5 separate regions of the Homo sapiens genome follow, and regions 1, 2, 4 and 5 are each linked to region 3. The links are contacts of gene promoters, found by promoter capture Hi-C in blood cells and fetal thymus (Javierre and others, 2016). All regions are on one chromosome and are shown on one strand. Each heading gives the region's core, a stretch centred on a gene start or on the middle of the fragment in contact. The rest is flanking DNA. Distances are from core to core; before and after follow the strand shown. Region 1 has its middle 61 kb from the start of IL1RL1. Region 2 holds the start of IL1RL1 (interleukin 1 receptor like 1). Region 3 holds the start of SLC9A4 (solute carrier family 9 member A4). Region 4 overlaps SLC9A2 (solute carrier family 9 member A2). Region 5 overlaps SLC9A2 (solute carrier family 9 member A2).

The links. Contacts are between HindIII fragments. The CHiCAGO score rates a contact against its expected background, and 5 or more counts as called.
Region 1: a fragment that was not itself captured here is called in contact with the fragment with the promoter of SLC9A4 in region 3 in 2 of 17 cell types (M1 macrophages and M0 macrophages); the score reaches 6.2 in M1 macrophages.
Region 2: a contact is called between the fragment with the promoter of IL1RL1 here and the fragment with the promoter of SLC9A4 in region 3, in 4 of 17 cell types (activated CD4 T cells, neutrophils, naive CD8 T cells and 1 more). The highest score is 7.7, in activated CD4 T cells.
Region 4: a fragment that was not itself captured here is called in contact with the fragment with the promoter of SLC9A4 in region 3 in 1 of 17 cell types (endothelial precursors); the score reaches 5.2 in endothelial precursors.
Region 5: a fragment that was not itself captured here is called in contact with the fragment with the promoter of SLC9A4 in region 3 in 1 of 17 cell types (M2 macrophages); the score reaches 5.3 in M2 macrophages.

What each region holds. Positions count from the first base shown.
Region 1 is chr2:102,249,124-102,251,823 of GRCh38, forward strand. It overlaps the pseudogene CFAP144P2. Among named protein-coding and RNA genes, the nearest start is that of IL1RL1, 61 kb to the right of the region's middle. RefSeq lists an enhancer at 1,540-2,133. The HindIII fragment of the contact is 2,748 bases long and covers 2-2,700 here.
Region 2 is chr2:102,310,154-102,313,005 of GRCh38, forward strand. It overlaps IL1RL1 (interleukin 1 receptor like 1), which reads left to right and starts at 1,410. Exons shown (of 11, transcript NM_016232.5): 1 at 1,410-1,470. The HindIII fragment of the contact is 5,145 bases long and covers 1-2,711 here.
Region 3 is chr2:102,471,953-102,474,652 of GRCh38, forward strand. It overlaps SLC9A4 (solute carrier family 9 member A4), which reads left to right and starts at 1,274. Exons shown (of 12, transcript NM_001011552.4): 1 at 1,274-2,063. The coding sequence starts at 1,808. The HindIII fragment of the contact is 5,984 bases long and covers 1-2,700 here.
Region 4 is chr2:102,636,080-102,638,779 of GRCh38, forward strand. All of the region lies in intron 1 of SLC9A2 (solute carrier family 9 member A2), which reads left to right. Among named protein-coding and RNA genes, the nearest start is that of SLC9A2, 18 kb to the left of the region's middle. The HindIII fragment of the contact is 1,587 bases long and covers 504-2,090 here.
Region 5 is chr2:102,686,935-102,689,773 of GRCh38, forward strand. All of the region lies in intron 5 of SLC9A2 (solute carrier family 9 member A2), which reads left to right. Among named protein-coding and RNA genes, the nearest start is that of SLC67A2, 49 kb to the right of the region's middle. The HindIII fragment of the contact is 6,337 bases long and covers 1-2,839 here.

The DNA.
Region 1 (2,700 bases), core at 126-2,625, 220 kb before region 3:
AAGCTTCCTGTGTGCATTTGGCTCCTGTGAGTCCATGCCCAGGCTTGGTCAACCCTAACATGGTACAGCTTGCACAGTTTGTAGGCAGCTTTGCAACACAGGATAGATGAACCTAAATCCTCGGAGATTCTTTTCAGCTGGATTAGGTGGGAAAAATTGTCTCTCTCTTGCTCCCTCTCCTACTCTGTCTCTGAAATGTGGGTATAGCTTTGCTGGTAGCAGTCTTTCCTTCCACAAGGATAGATTTTGTTAGCGTCAAGAATGAATCATGTCAAAAGTGAAGAGTCAAGAGATAAGCAGAATCAGAGAAGGAAAGAGAGACCAAGAGAGATCTGTGACATTGTTTGAGTCCCTGGATCCTGTCATGCCTGAATTCCTTGGAACTCTGAAGTTTAGGAGTTAACTATTTCTCATTTCTGCTTAAATTTGGTTTCTGTTTCTCACAATGGAAATAATCCTAACAAATACAAGCCTCAATATGTTAGTCTTTTCCTGCAGACTTCTTTCTGATTGATATCACTGTAGCAATGTGAATTTTTCTATGAAATCATGTAAGTTTCTCTCCTTGGAAAAGAGATTAAAAAGCCATACTAGGTTTGGGGTTCCTATCATAAGTGTGTTTGGGTATAAATTATACAATGGCTCAAAAGTAACATAAAAAATTTATTTTTGGGGGCAGTGCACACTTAAGGCATGAAATCCGGCGCCTCAGTCCACTGCTGGGATGCCACTGGTGGCCATCATCTCCTCCCAGGCTCCACATCTGAGCCTTGTACAGAGCGATGTCATTGCAGACCCTGCAGTGGTTCAGCCTGCAATCTGGGCATTCTGGGTTGAGGGGGGGGCACTGAGTCCCATGCACTTTCCTGGTTTTCGGTCTGTGTCTGGGTCCCTCTTCCTTGGTCCCTGGGCAGCGTGGTGAATGAGATTCCGAAACCTGGCGTCTCCAGGCTCCTCCAGGTTACCATGCCAAGACATGGGCTTCCTGGTGATCTGTGGACCTCGTGGAGGGGTTCACGTGATACCGCGCATAGACGTTCTGGGCTGGTAGCCCTTTGAGGTACAGCTCCTGCAAGATCTGGTTCTGACGGACCTCATCCTGGATCACCTTCTCCCTGGGGTGTCCCGCCATGGCCTTGGCATTGCTCCATCGGGTTCGATGCGCTCTCTGCTCCCTTGTGCCTCTCTCCCTGGCCCCGGGCTTCTGCCTTCTCCAGGCAACGGTGTCCCACACGGTCTCCAGGCTACAGCACTCCCACAGCCCCAGCTCCTGGCGACCCAGCCCTTACCCCAACCGCCCGTGGACACCTCCAGGAAAGGGCTTCCTGTCACGGGACAGACCCGGAGGTCATGGGCATGTGGTTAGGCCTCACCTTGGCCAGTCGTTTCTCTCCCAGCGAGCAGAGGCGCTGCTTCCTCGTGCTCTCCCTTCTCTGTCTCGGGCCTGCAGTTTGCTCCGTGGTTCCAGACCAAGGCCCACGGGGAAGCCATTGCCAAATGCAGAGGCTGGCGCGGCTGGCTGAGCAGGCAGCGGAGGCCGAGGGTGGGTGTCCGTGGTCCTGCGTCCCCGTGTCCACAGCCAGGCCGCGGGGACCCTAGGGTCCGCTCCTTCGCTGCCCGAGCACGGTGCCTGCAGGGGCCCCTCCGTGGGGTCGTGGATCGTCAGGGCCGCGTGGGTGGCTGGGCGGGGGCGGGCTGTAGGCAGCTTCTAAAAGCAGGGGCTGGGCGGGGGCGTGGGGGGATAGGGAGGGACGTAGTGGAAGTTGGGGCCCCAACGGACATGAGGGCGGCAGATGCAGATCTTATGAAGATTCAGGCAGGAAGAGCTCGGCAGGGCGATGCCCAAGACGGGGTAGTGGACGGGGACGAATTGGTTCAGAGACGGGTAGCAGATGGGGCAGAAGGACGAGTAGGTGGGCTGGAACAGGAGCGTAGTCTGCGGGTCCAGAAACGGGGGACGGATGGGAGGAAAGAAGAGCCGACTGCCAGGGAGCTGCGGGGTGGCGCCGAGCGGGCGCCGGGGTTGGGAGGCGGAGAGGCGGGGCAGCTTTCGAGTCATTTTCAGCGAGTGCAAAGCTCCCTCGTCGGAACGGTCGGAGTGCGCGGCGAGCGCGGGGCCTGCGCGGCTTTTATCTCCTCAGGGCGTTCCAGGGCGGAACGTGCTTTGTGACCTGCGCCCCCCGTGAAGCCGGGAGCCCCTCGCGAGTTGGCACAGGGCCCCGTCTCAGGGTTTAGGAGCGAACGGGGAAATGGAAGACAAAGGAAATGGGGGGACATAGCAACCCCTATTCTTGTACCCTGTAGTTTTGCCCTCAGTAGGCAAAGGCTGATCAGAGGGCTAGGATACAGTTAGAGGCCGGGGGCCTGGGGGAGCGGCTCTGAGCAGGATCTGGGAAAAGGGGACGAAGTCAGTGCCCCAGGCACCTTCCCTTAAGACAGCGCAGCGTTCAAAGCCCTTCAGTCCTTCACATCACTGCGGGAACATGCGCAATTAGACATGCTAGGTCCATTTTACCCATGGGACAGGAAGGACCAGAGAGGGAACTTCCATAGGCTGGCGGTGGTGACAAAGCAGGTGGGGCTAGAACTTGGGTCAGGAGAGGGCAGGTAGGAGGGAAGGCAAAATGCCCCAAGCGCGCACCAGCGCCTTGCCTCTCCTGCATGTCTGGACGGGGTCCTGCAGGGGGCGCGTCAGAGCAG
Region 2 (2,852 bases), core at 160-2,659, 160 kb before region 3:
ATACATTTTGAAGGGTTTTTTTGTTTGTTTGTTTGTTTTTGAGACAGAGTTTCGCTGTGTCACCAAGGCTGGAGCACCGTGGTGCAGTCTTGGCTCACTGCAACCTTTGACTCCCGGGTTCAAGCAATTCTCGTGCCTCAGCCTCCTGAGTAGCTTGGATTAGAGGTGTGCACCATCACACGCAGCAAATTTTTGTATTTTAGTAGAGACGGGGTTTCACCATGTTGGCCAGGATGTTGGGATTACAGGCGTGAGCTACCATGCCCTGCCAGAAGGTTTGTTTTTATTTTAAACACAATTGTGCTGGGTGTGATAGGATGGGTATATGATAGAGCAGAAAATCACTAGTATTTCATCAATATGGATAGCATCCTCCATAGGTTACTGATTTAATATTGACAACAATACCCTTCACACGAGAGAGAGGTTAGAGAATTTGCCCAAAGTCAAGCAGCTGGGAAGAGGAAAACTAGGCTGTGCTCTCCCTAAATCTCATGCTCTATTATATTAGGGAAGACTCTGGCAGATGGCACATCCTGATTATTTGAAAGTCACCAATATTTTTAGAAATTGCATAGATAATTAAGGTTAGTTTATCCAGAATTCTAATAATTGCAGCACATGTCCATAAATCTCTATTACAACCACCTGAGATAGGCCATCTCGGGCATGTGGAAAAAGCCCAGGTATAGACACTTTGGATCCTGGATTTCCCTTGTACTGGCTGCTACCTTGGGTAAGGTAATTCTCCTCTCTGAAGCTCCTGTCAGCTTCTGAGGATTGCGTGGGATAGCACATACCAAATTACTGCACACAGAGCCTGGTGTACACTTAAGCACACGAGATGTGTCAAAGTTTTCAAAAACATTGCCAACGAGGCATCAGTTACAAAACTTGCTGCAGAGTGAGCTGATATTGTGCCACTGCACTCCAGCCTGGGTGACACAGTGAGGCTTTGCCTCAAAAAAAAAAAAAAAAAAAAAAGAAAGAAACACCAAATAAGCAACTTGCTGCAGAAATGGGTACTCTTGTTCTAGAAATGTGACTATAGGGAAGTTACAACTACCAACTCGCGTTAAGGGAAATGAGTGACCTGCCACCTACATGGTGTTAGGGAGGTTTTGCTGAGAAAGTCACTCATGAAGAAGGCAAAATATAGTTAAGACAAAATGTAACTATCTATAGAGATAAGGTAAAAATTGGAAATAGAACTTCATTAAAGATCTTTCAAATAGGGAGAATGTGGTGAAAACTGCAGTTAACATTTGTTAACAGTGTGATCATCGGGTTCAGCTTATCAGTAACCTGGTTCCTGTCTCTTAACTGATAAAGAAAATGGGAGGTTTTTAAAGAGAGGCTGGCTGTTGTATTTAGTAAAGCTATAAAGCTGTAAGAGAAATTGGCTTTCTGAGTTGTGAAACTGTGGGCAGAAAGTTGAGGAAGAAAGAACTCAAGTACAACCCAATGAGGGTAAGTGGCTTTGGGGTATTTTTCAAAAATACTTTTATCTCAAAGGGAACAAAATTTTCACATACGAATTTAGGTCATTATAACAATAATATTCATTGTTATATTATTATAACATTATATGTTATAATAATATATAATATATATAATATATAATTGTTATAACATTATAACAATTATATATTATATATAATACAATTATATAATATATATTATATAATTGTAATATATAATATAATTATATAATATATATTATATAATATAATATATAATATATCATATATGTTATATATTTTATTATATAATATATATTATATATAATATTATATATAATATATATTATATATAATATTATATATAATATATATTATATATAATATATTTATATATATTATATATAATATATATTATATATTAAATATTATATATATAATATATATAACATTATTGTTATAATGTTATAACATTATTATATATTAAATATAATATATATAATATTATATTTATATTGAGGAAAACATTCACTCAATGACAGAGGGAAGACTTAGCTTTCCAAACAATCTTCTGTTAAAAGAAAAACTTTAGCTGAATTAAATTTAAAGGAGTTTAATTGTGTTTTGGTGCCTTATGCAAATGAAGGGCCTATAATATAATATATAATGTAATATATATAACATTATAACAATAATAATCATTGTTATCAATTTTGCTTGTGAGAAAAGTAGTATTACCAATGGGAAAATCATGGTACAGATTGATGAAATCCCTTGAAATCTTGTTTGTGTAATATGGGACTTTGGTCCAACGTGTTGGAAAAGACCTGGTTGAGGGTAAGAAAGGATGGGAGCTTTATAGTATACACACAGAGTGCTCATATTCTGGAGTTATTCTTTCTGAAATCCACAAAATCCAGCAGTGTAATCTACTCAGATGGAGATGAAGGAAAAAAACAAAACAAATGAAGCAAGAAGCTGCTGGCCAAAAGGGGTGAGGAAGCAGGGTCATACCCATCTGCAAGAAGAAAATAGAGAACGGACATGAGAGGGGTGGATATGAGGATATGAGAAGGCCCTCTTGAGTGAGGGCCATTGTTTCTGGAGGGGTGGGGAGTGAATGACTGATGTAAGTTCAAGTTTGTTGCGGGTGCCTGCTTTGATCCTCTGCTTGGTGGCTCCATTCTTCTTCTCTCTGAAGGCTACTTCAACAGAGGGTGCAGAGGTAAACATAGCAGAACTGGCCCCCAAAGCTTTATCCACTGAATGTCAGTTTTTCCTTTAATTTCTTCCAGGCATAAGGAAATCGGAGGCATGTTTCTGTCTGGCTATAACAGTTCTCCTACTAGATCCTGAGGCCAAACTATTCACATGCCATTGTTCCTGAATACC
Region 3 (2,700 bases), core at 24-2,523:
AAAGCAGCTTTCTATTAAAGGATATTCATATATTCTTTGAGAAAAAATAATCGACTCAATATGTGTACCCTTCTTGTAGTCCACCTGATAGTCTCATTTCAGTGACTGAATCTAATCTATTCTGGAGTCAAACTGAAGGAAAAAGAAAAAATATTCATATGTGAACTTTTAATTCTATTGCCTCACTATGAATTTGCATCTAGGTGTTAGCCCTTCTCAACCATTCCTTTCTCAATTTCCCAGTGATGTTAGCTGAGTGTGTGTGTGTGTGTGTGTGTGTGTGTGTGTGTGTGTGTGTGTGTGTTGGCTGGGGGGAAATCCCCTGCACTCACTAATATGAACTAAGAAAAAACAAAACACAAAGCATCTTGCAGTTTGATGTAAAAGAGATGTTGGGGTAGTATATGGATGATGTATTATTCTCATTTTTTACTGAGTATCAGTAATCATTGCAAAAGTGTTGTATCTTATCCTAAAAGTATAAGAAATGTAATTTAAAATAAAAACTAACATTTAAGTGCCAACTACATGCCAAATTCTTTACTTGCTTTATCTCATTTAATGTTCCTAGCTACTCAATGAGGCAGATATTTTCCTCTCTGTTTCAGATAAGGAATTTCTGAAAGGTAATTAACTTCACCAAGGTCACCTGGCAACAAGTAGAAGAGCGAGAAGTAGGCTCATAAAAATTATCTCAAAATTCTTTCATCAACATTCTATGATGCTGCTTCTTTTTAACAACAACAAATGTTTTTTAAATGGAAAATCTGGATGTGCCATGGAGTTTTACAAATCCAGGTATTTAGGTGTATTTATGGAACTTGTTCTTTGGCTTCCTGTTTTTTAAAAATTATAGTGTAAAGTTCATAGAGATCTGGAACTTCATTCCTTCTATGAATGACTGCTCATGGAGTCTGGTAACATGCAAAAGTTTCAGTGTTTGCTACCATCCTTGTTGTTACCACCTCCTTCTTATCCTCCTTCTTCCTCATGTATAGAGACCATATAAGACAGTTTGCTGGACAATTCTGGTTTGTGCCTATAGCTTTGCATAATTATCATTATTATTCATTCCCCAAAGTGTCCTGGTTTAGATAATTTCATGGTCACCTTAACGTTCATAACTGAAAGTGTCAAGGGTGTTGTATTGCAGGTGCCCACTAGGTGTCAGCAGTGTGACCTCCAGAGAACCCTCAGAGAAAGGATTTCATTACAAAAGTCAAATCAAAGCAAATAATTAAGTGTAGTTCCAGAGCTACCTGAAGCCGTGGTCATTCAAAACAAATGAGAGGACAGGGGGAGGAGAGAAGGAACAAGCGCAGATCAGGTAGCTCCTTCTTGGGATCTGATAGACAGGGAAGGTTTCCTTTCCTCATTAGAAGGACTCCAGTGATCTGTGGAATGAGCACTACAGTATCCTTTTAAATTTTCACCCACAAGACAAAGCCAGTATGCAGTGAAATGAGGAAATGCCTTTAAGTGAAGAGATTTTTATTTCTTTCATAAATTGCTCAAGCCATGATTGGATGGAGGTCCTCCAGGTAGCTCCATGGACTTTAACAAGTCTATTGAATAACTGCATTTGAGTTGGAAGCTGAGTTGCCTGAACACAAACGATTTAAACCAGATTAGAAAGTGTCTACATACAGAGCTCAATAACACACTCGGAATCTTCTTGGGAGGACCCACAGACTGTACCTATATTACTTTTGACCCAGGTGGATGCAGTCACTCTCTAGAAGCCTCCCCGACTTCAGATGTGTGGCACACATCCACACAGGGGTGTAGGTAGGAGAAGCCCACAGGAATGGCTCTGCAGATGTTCGTGACTTACAGTCCTTGGAATTGTTTGCTACTGCTAGTGGCTCTTGAGTGTTCTGAAGCATCTTCTGATTTGAATGAATCTGCAAATTCCACTGCTCAGTATGCATCTAACGCTTGGTTTGCTGCTGCCAGCTCAGAGCCAGAGGAAGGGATATCTGTTTTTGAACTGGATTATGACTATGTGCAAATTCCTTATGAGGTCACTCTCTGGATACTTCTAGCATCCCTTGCAAAAATAGGTAAGTCCTTAAACACCTGGTTTGGTGAGTTATCTTTTTACATAAGATAGTGAATGTGAAAATGCCTTATAGATAACGGGCTAAGAGGATTTTAACTGTTACTGCTATTACATTAAAAATTCTCTTCCCTTCAGTCAAGGGAAAGTCATAACTGCATTTTACTAAGCTATTTAATACTTTGAGATTGCTCTTTGAAATTTGAGAGCATACTTCTGGGTACTGGGCTGTGTTGGTTTCTTCTCATTTCAGGGTGACAACCATGTGACATTGTTGACATGCAAAACTCTCAAATTCTATGCTTTAAAAATATAGAGAATAAAGCACGTAGACCTGGGCATGATGCAAGGTGGAAATTTCAGGAAACACATAATGTTTCTTCTGTAAAATATTCTTGGCTGTGTAATTGTGGGCTTCATCAATCACCCCATTGTTTATTCTTTAAAAGTAGCGTGTGCTTCTTGCAAATTGACAGAAAGCAAAAAACAAGAAAACCATAGGCAACTTGTATTACTCAGTGATGGGATGTCGGGGCATATAAGATTATATCTGTCAGTAAAATATTAGTTTATACCTACCAAGTGGGGCCAGTGAGGCACCTCTAATTTCCTTTGTGAAATAAAGTGAATCCAAGTTAATA
Region 4 (2,700 bases), core at 47-2,546, 160 kb after region 3:
ATTATGATGACTGTAGAACTATATGGAACTGTAAGAATCTCCATGAATCTTTAAAATACACATCCCAATACATACTCATTGAAACCCCTTTGATTTTTGCAACCATAAGCAAATGGGAAGACAAAGACCACCAACTTGGTAACAGAAGTCAGGGAGGAGGGAAAGGGAATGAAAGGGATAGTATTCTAGCAAGCTTGGAAAATACAGTCTTTTACCAAATGGGATAGTTTCTTAGTTTAGCCTGAGCCAACAGTGTGCAAATATTTCCCTGCCATGTAAATAACTGGTGAATGCAGTTAAGTGTTAGCAACCACTTAATTGAAAAATGAAATCAGGTAGCAATTACTGGCAATTGTGGGTTCCTTCACTATACTTTGATCTACGTATTTTGAGCAAGTGGTAAATTTGCTTAGAAGGCAAGCTCTTGAAGGAAAAGAAACCAGAAAACAGAAAATATGGTTCCCACACAAGGCGGTTAGGTGGGTGGGGTAGAGTCCCTGGAAAGCTTTATATGGCTTAATGATAGCAGTGTGCAAACAGCAAAGCCAAAATTGGCATAAATCGTTTACTAACACATGAGTTGAGAGAACGATAAATCCTAAGATTTAACATCTAGCCTGGGGCAGTAGAATAAAAATTGCTTTCAACTGCTGGCTGGCATGGGAAGTTCTGACTCTAGGTTATAGTGTACCAGAGTCTTTATCAGCACTGGCACGCCCTAGTGGCCCTTCCCCCAGCTTAACTAAGCTGTGCAAAGGATCTGTTCAGAAATAGTCACTAGAACTTGTCAACCCCTTGGACTCTGTAACTCCTCCTAAACACTGTCTAGGCACTGGCAAGTTTTACCTTCAGAATGATCTCTTCAAATTGAGTCCTTCCTTGGTCAAACCCCTTCATCAGATTGTGTTTCTAAAATGGGAGGGTTGGAAGAAAGGAAGAAAAGAAAAAGAAAAAGTGGAGGGCTTAGAGCCTTGAGGAGATGAAAAAGTTAAAGATGGGTGGAATCACCGAAGATCCGTTGAATCTGTTTCATAGCTGTGAGACCTATACCTGCAGTCCTAACAGACTGAGAGCAAGCTCTGTGACTGCTTCACCTGCCGTTCCTCACAGGAAACTGGAGTCCCAGAGTTTTCTAAATAAGAATACTCCGCATGTCCAAGGGCAGCTCTCAGTATTTAATAGCGAGGATCCTGTTTCCCACCTGGCTGTATGAGAAATTCCCTTGCCATCTGTAGAGTCCTTTTCTCAGCTTGGGAGACACAAGTTTCACACCCAGATAGAATACATGCTGAAATACTTTGAAAACTGGCCAGTGCCATCGTTATTATTTCCTGGGGCACAGTTGCAGTGCCAGCACAACTAAGCCAGTGATCATTTCCGAGCTGTCCAGTGGGTGTGGTGTGGGTTACAGAAAGAATATAATGCAGGCAGTGAGGTGACCAGGGCATGAGTCAAATCCTGCGCCCAACCCTGGCTTGGGTATCAGAGTAGGATTCAGCTGCCTCCAGTGAAAAAGAGACTCCCAGGGCAGCAGAGCCACCTACCTGCAGAAGTGAACTTCACCAGCTCTGTGTGCTGTACTGGACCTGCCAGAGATCTCACCCCATTGATAAAAACCAACTGCAGTGCCCCAGCTGGGACAGGGAGGCACCCCTGGCCCGTGAGGAGATGGTCCCTCACTCATCTGCTTAAAGGATGGGAAATCTGTTACCTAATTCATGGAATCTCTGCCTAAGTTGTGTTCTCATTGCTGTGGTTGAGACTAGAAGGAAGGAGTCTAAAAAGATAGACATGTAGCTGTCAGTGTGGGCCCTGTTGGTGCCTCTTCATGCCCTGAGAGATGGGAGGGGTTACGGGGAGCAAGCTGGACAGCCAGCTCTTGCCCTGCCCAAGCTCCAGCTGATGGCCACTTTGCAGAAATTGGCATAAGATGGGTGACAAAAGCCCAGTTTTGCTGATTTTCCAAGATAACTTGGACAGAAGAATTTACATGTGGATCCTCTCAGTTTCTCAATATGAGCTCAATCTTTGAACCCACTAGATAGGCCCAACAAAATAGGCGTGAAGGCCATGGTGGCTCGTGGCCTGCAAGCTTGCAAACTCTGCTTCAGACTTTTCATGTTACATGAAATTTTGCTTCTTGTCTTTATACCTGGGTATATTTAAAAGGGCTGAGCTGATTATGTGGGACACTTAGGGACTCAGGATCAGTTGGAATATGTTTTATAGTCAAGTTAACACTGATCAAAATGAGTATTATTCTCAGAAATTGATCATGTTACAAAAAGACAAATAAATAGAAATGGTTGACATACTCTGACCATTGACAAATGTGGGAAGGACACTATGGAATATCTAAGGGAAAGGGGTTTATGCTTCCCACCTTGAATAAGAAGCACAAGCCAAAGGGAAGCTGAGCTGGGATTGCACTCAGGAGGCACTGTGTTAAGTCACACAATGAGTTCATCGTCTGTGAAAGGTAAACTCTGTGGGTACATCAGTTATGGTCCTGGCAATTATTGATGTCTTGAATGAAAGTGTTCCTTATGCTCACTAAAGAGAGGCACTTTCCACTGCTTCTCAGCCTTTTGATCAAGTGTGGAGATGCACTTTCTTTAAAAATGTGTCTGTGAGTCTGGGCGCAGTGGCTTATGCCTGTAATCCCAACATTTTGGGAGGCCAAGGCAGGAGAATTGCTTG
Region 5 (2,839 bases), core at 336-2,835, 220 kb after region 3:
AACAGCACAGTTGAGATGTATTAGCCGAATTTGGTATTGTGAACACATCAAGCTAATCCTCCACTGAGGGAGACATCTGGGGATCATTGTTTAGAGCCCGCAGGTGTAGAGATGGCAGTCTTTCCTCTTATTAGGTTAAACGAGAGTCTGGCCAAGTTCACTTGGATATCCACAGAGAAGAGAAATTGCTGCGGTTCCACTTGTGTTGATATCTTCTTTTTCCTTTTCTCTGCCTACCCTTCTGTGTGCACAGATCGGAGACTGCGTGCATATTGCTTGGTTCCATGACTCTGACCACTTCCTCTTCCTCCTATTCTCCTACCTACCACTGGTTCTTAAGATACTCTGAACACACACACGTGCACAAGCGTGCATGCACCCACACACACAAATACACACATACTCCCTTCAGAAAAGATATCTTTTCCAGAATACATCAATAATTAAGGAATTCAGTGAAGGAAGCCTGGAGGGAAATACTTGATGAGATATAAATATAGCAGGAATAACTAATTATACATCCATGCATAAAATATTGCCTTTCAAGTAAGAATTATGTATTCTTTTTCAAACGATGACTTTTATGTTGATGGACCAATTACTAAACTTTAAATATGTTTTTCTCCCCTTATTTCAATATTTTATATGATAAGCTCTTCCAACCTGGTACTACTGAGTTATAACTATCTTCAAAAATAGGATTTCACATGATGTATGATGCATTATTTGATATCATAGTTTATCATGAGAATTTTCACATTGTTTGAATCGTGTTGCTTCTTAGCAAGCGATGTAGTCCCTTTATGAGGCACACTATCATGTTGTCAGAATATGGTGCTGTTTGGGGAATTTTTTTTTTTTTGAGACAGAGTGTCACTCTGTCACCTAGGCTGGAGTGCAGTGGCACGATCTTGGCTCACTGCAACCTCTGCCTCCTAGGTTCCAGCGATTCTCCTGCCTCAGCCTCCCTGAGTAGCTGGGATTACAGAAATCCACCATCACGCCCAGCTAATTTTTATATTTTTAGTAGAGATGCGGTTTCGCTGTGTTCGCCAGGCTGGTCTTGAATTCCTGGCCTCAAGTAATGCACCCACCTTGGCCTCCCAAAGAGCTGGGATTACAAGCGCGAGCACCACCATGCCCGGCCGTGGAATATTGAATGAGGAAACAATTCTGATTCCTTGGACATTTGAGTTCATTTTTTTCCAATATGATTGGTAATGTTATTTATATCAAATATAAGCTATTTCTCATACATGTAAATTATATTCAAAATTGGGGAGGGTGAAATACAGTTACATAAAGTGCAGTTTTAGAGTAAGACTATTGTGGGTTGATACTCTAAGCCTGCTTTTTGCAGCCTCTGTGGGCCTCAGTTTACTTAGCTGTAAAATCTAGACAATGCTCCAGGCAGCTCAGGGGAAATATGTGTATAGAGTATGACACCTGACACAGGGTTTTTGCCTCACGAGTTGCCATGTTTAATATACTACATTAAGAAAAATTATAACGAGGCCATGTGCAGTGGCTCACGCCTGTAATTCCAGCACTTTGGGAGGCCAAGGCGGGTGGATCACGAGGTCAGGAGATCAAGACCATTCTGGCCAACATGGTGAAACCCTGTCTCTACTAAAACTACAAAAATTAGCTGGGCATGGTGGCACGTGCCTATAATCCCAGCTACTCGGGAGGCTGAGGCAGGAGAATCGCTTGAACCAGGGAGTCAGAGGTTGCAGTGAGCCGAGATTTTGCCACTGCACTCCAGCCTGGCGACAGAGCAAGACTCTGTCTCAAAACAAACAAACAAACAAAAAAAGAAAGAAAACTTGTAACGAAAGAAAGAAAAAGGTAAGTTCTTTCAATATATTTTTCTTTGGAAGGAAAAATGATTAGAATACAATAATTATTATGTAGTTAATCCCTATAATAAAAAGGGGCAGATCTCAAGAATTCTGTAAACGTACTAAGTGGTTATCTAGAAGTCCATCAAGTGGGAAAGTTAACCAAAATTCAAGAGATAGCAGCCTCTTTTGCACATTAGTGATGTAACTTAGGTTAAGTCACGGTGCAGAACTGCGAAGCATCTGGGGTTTTATTATACTTGTAAGCTAACAAGTTCGCCTGTTACTATTTCATGAATGCTACAGAAGACTCCTGAGTCAGAGACAAAGGACTTTATTGTCCATGACAAGAGCTGTAGCCACAGCCTTGTGTTGGTTTGTGTCAGTTTTCCACACCTCCTTGTCCCATGGGGGTGACACAAGGGACCCGCGATGGATGTCTGCCCATGTCATGGGCTGTATTGCAGGAGGGGGATATATTTGAGTTTGGGGATATATTGCTCTCTCAGAAGGGTGACCTTACTTCATTTCTCAAGAGTGCTCATTGCTTGCAACCCTAAGAAATGCTCCAGGTAAAAAAGTCATCAAGGCCTGACATTCTTGGCATCCCCTGCAAGAACATGTTGGGGTGCTTAGGGCCCATGGTGGGGTAGCCTCTCCCAGCAATTACATGAATCTTTGCTGATTTAGCCTCTCCAACTGGAATGATGATGCTCACTATTTTATAGACCTTGTGAAGACCCTCAAATGTGCCTTCATTTGTCAAATAAATGGTCATATTTTTATATATGTACTGTTTAAAAAGGACACCATCTTTATATTTCATTAACATATGCCATTATTAGGTGGGGTTCCATAGAATTTAGAATACTTTACAACAATCCTACAATAAAACGAGCAAGATGATCAGGCTTTTTTAAGATGGAACAATGTAGGTGAAAAGTTTAGGATATGAGAAGAAGAGCAGTATAAGACAGTTCCATGTGTTTTTGACTGCG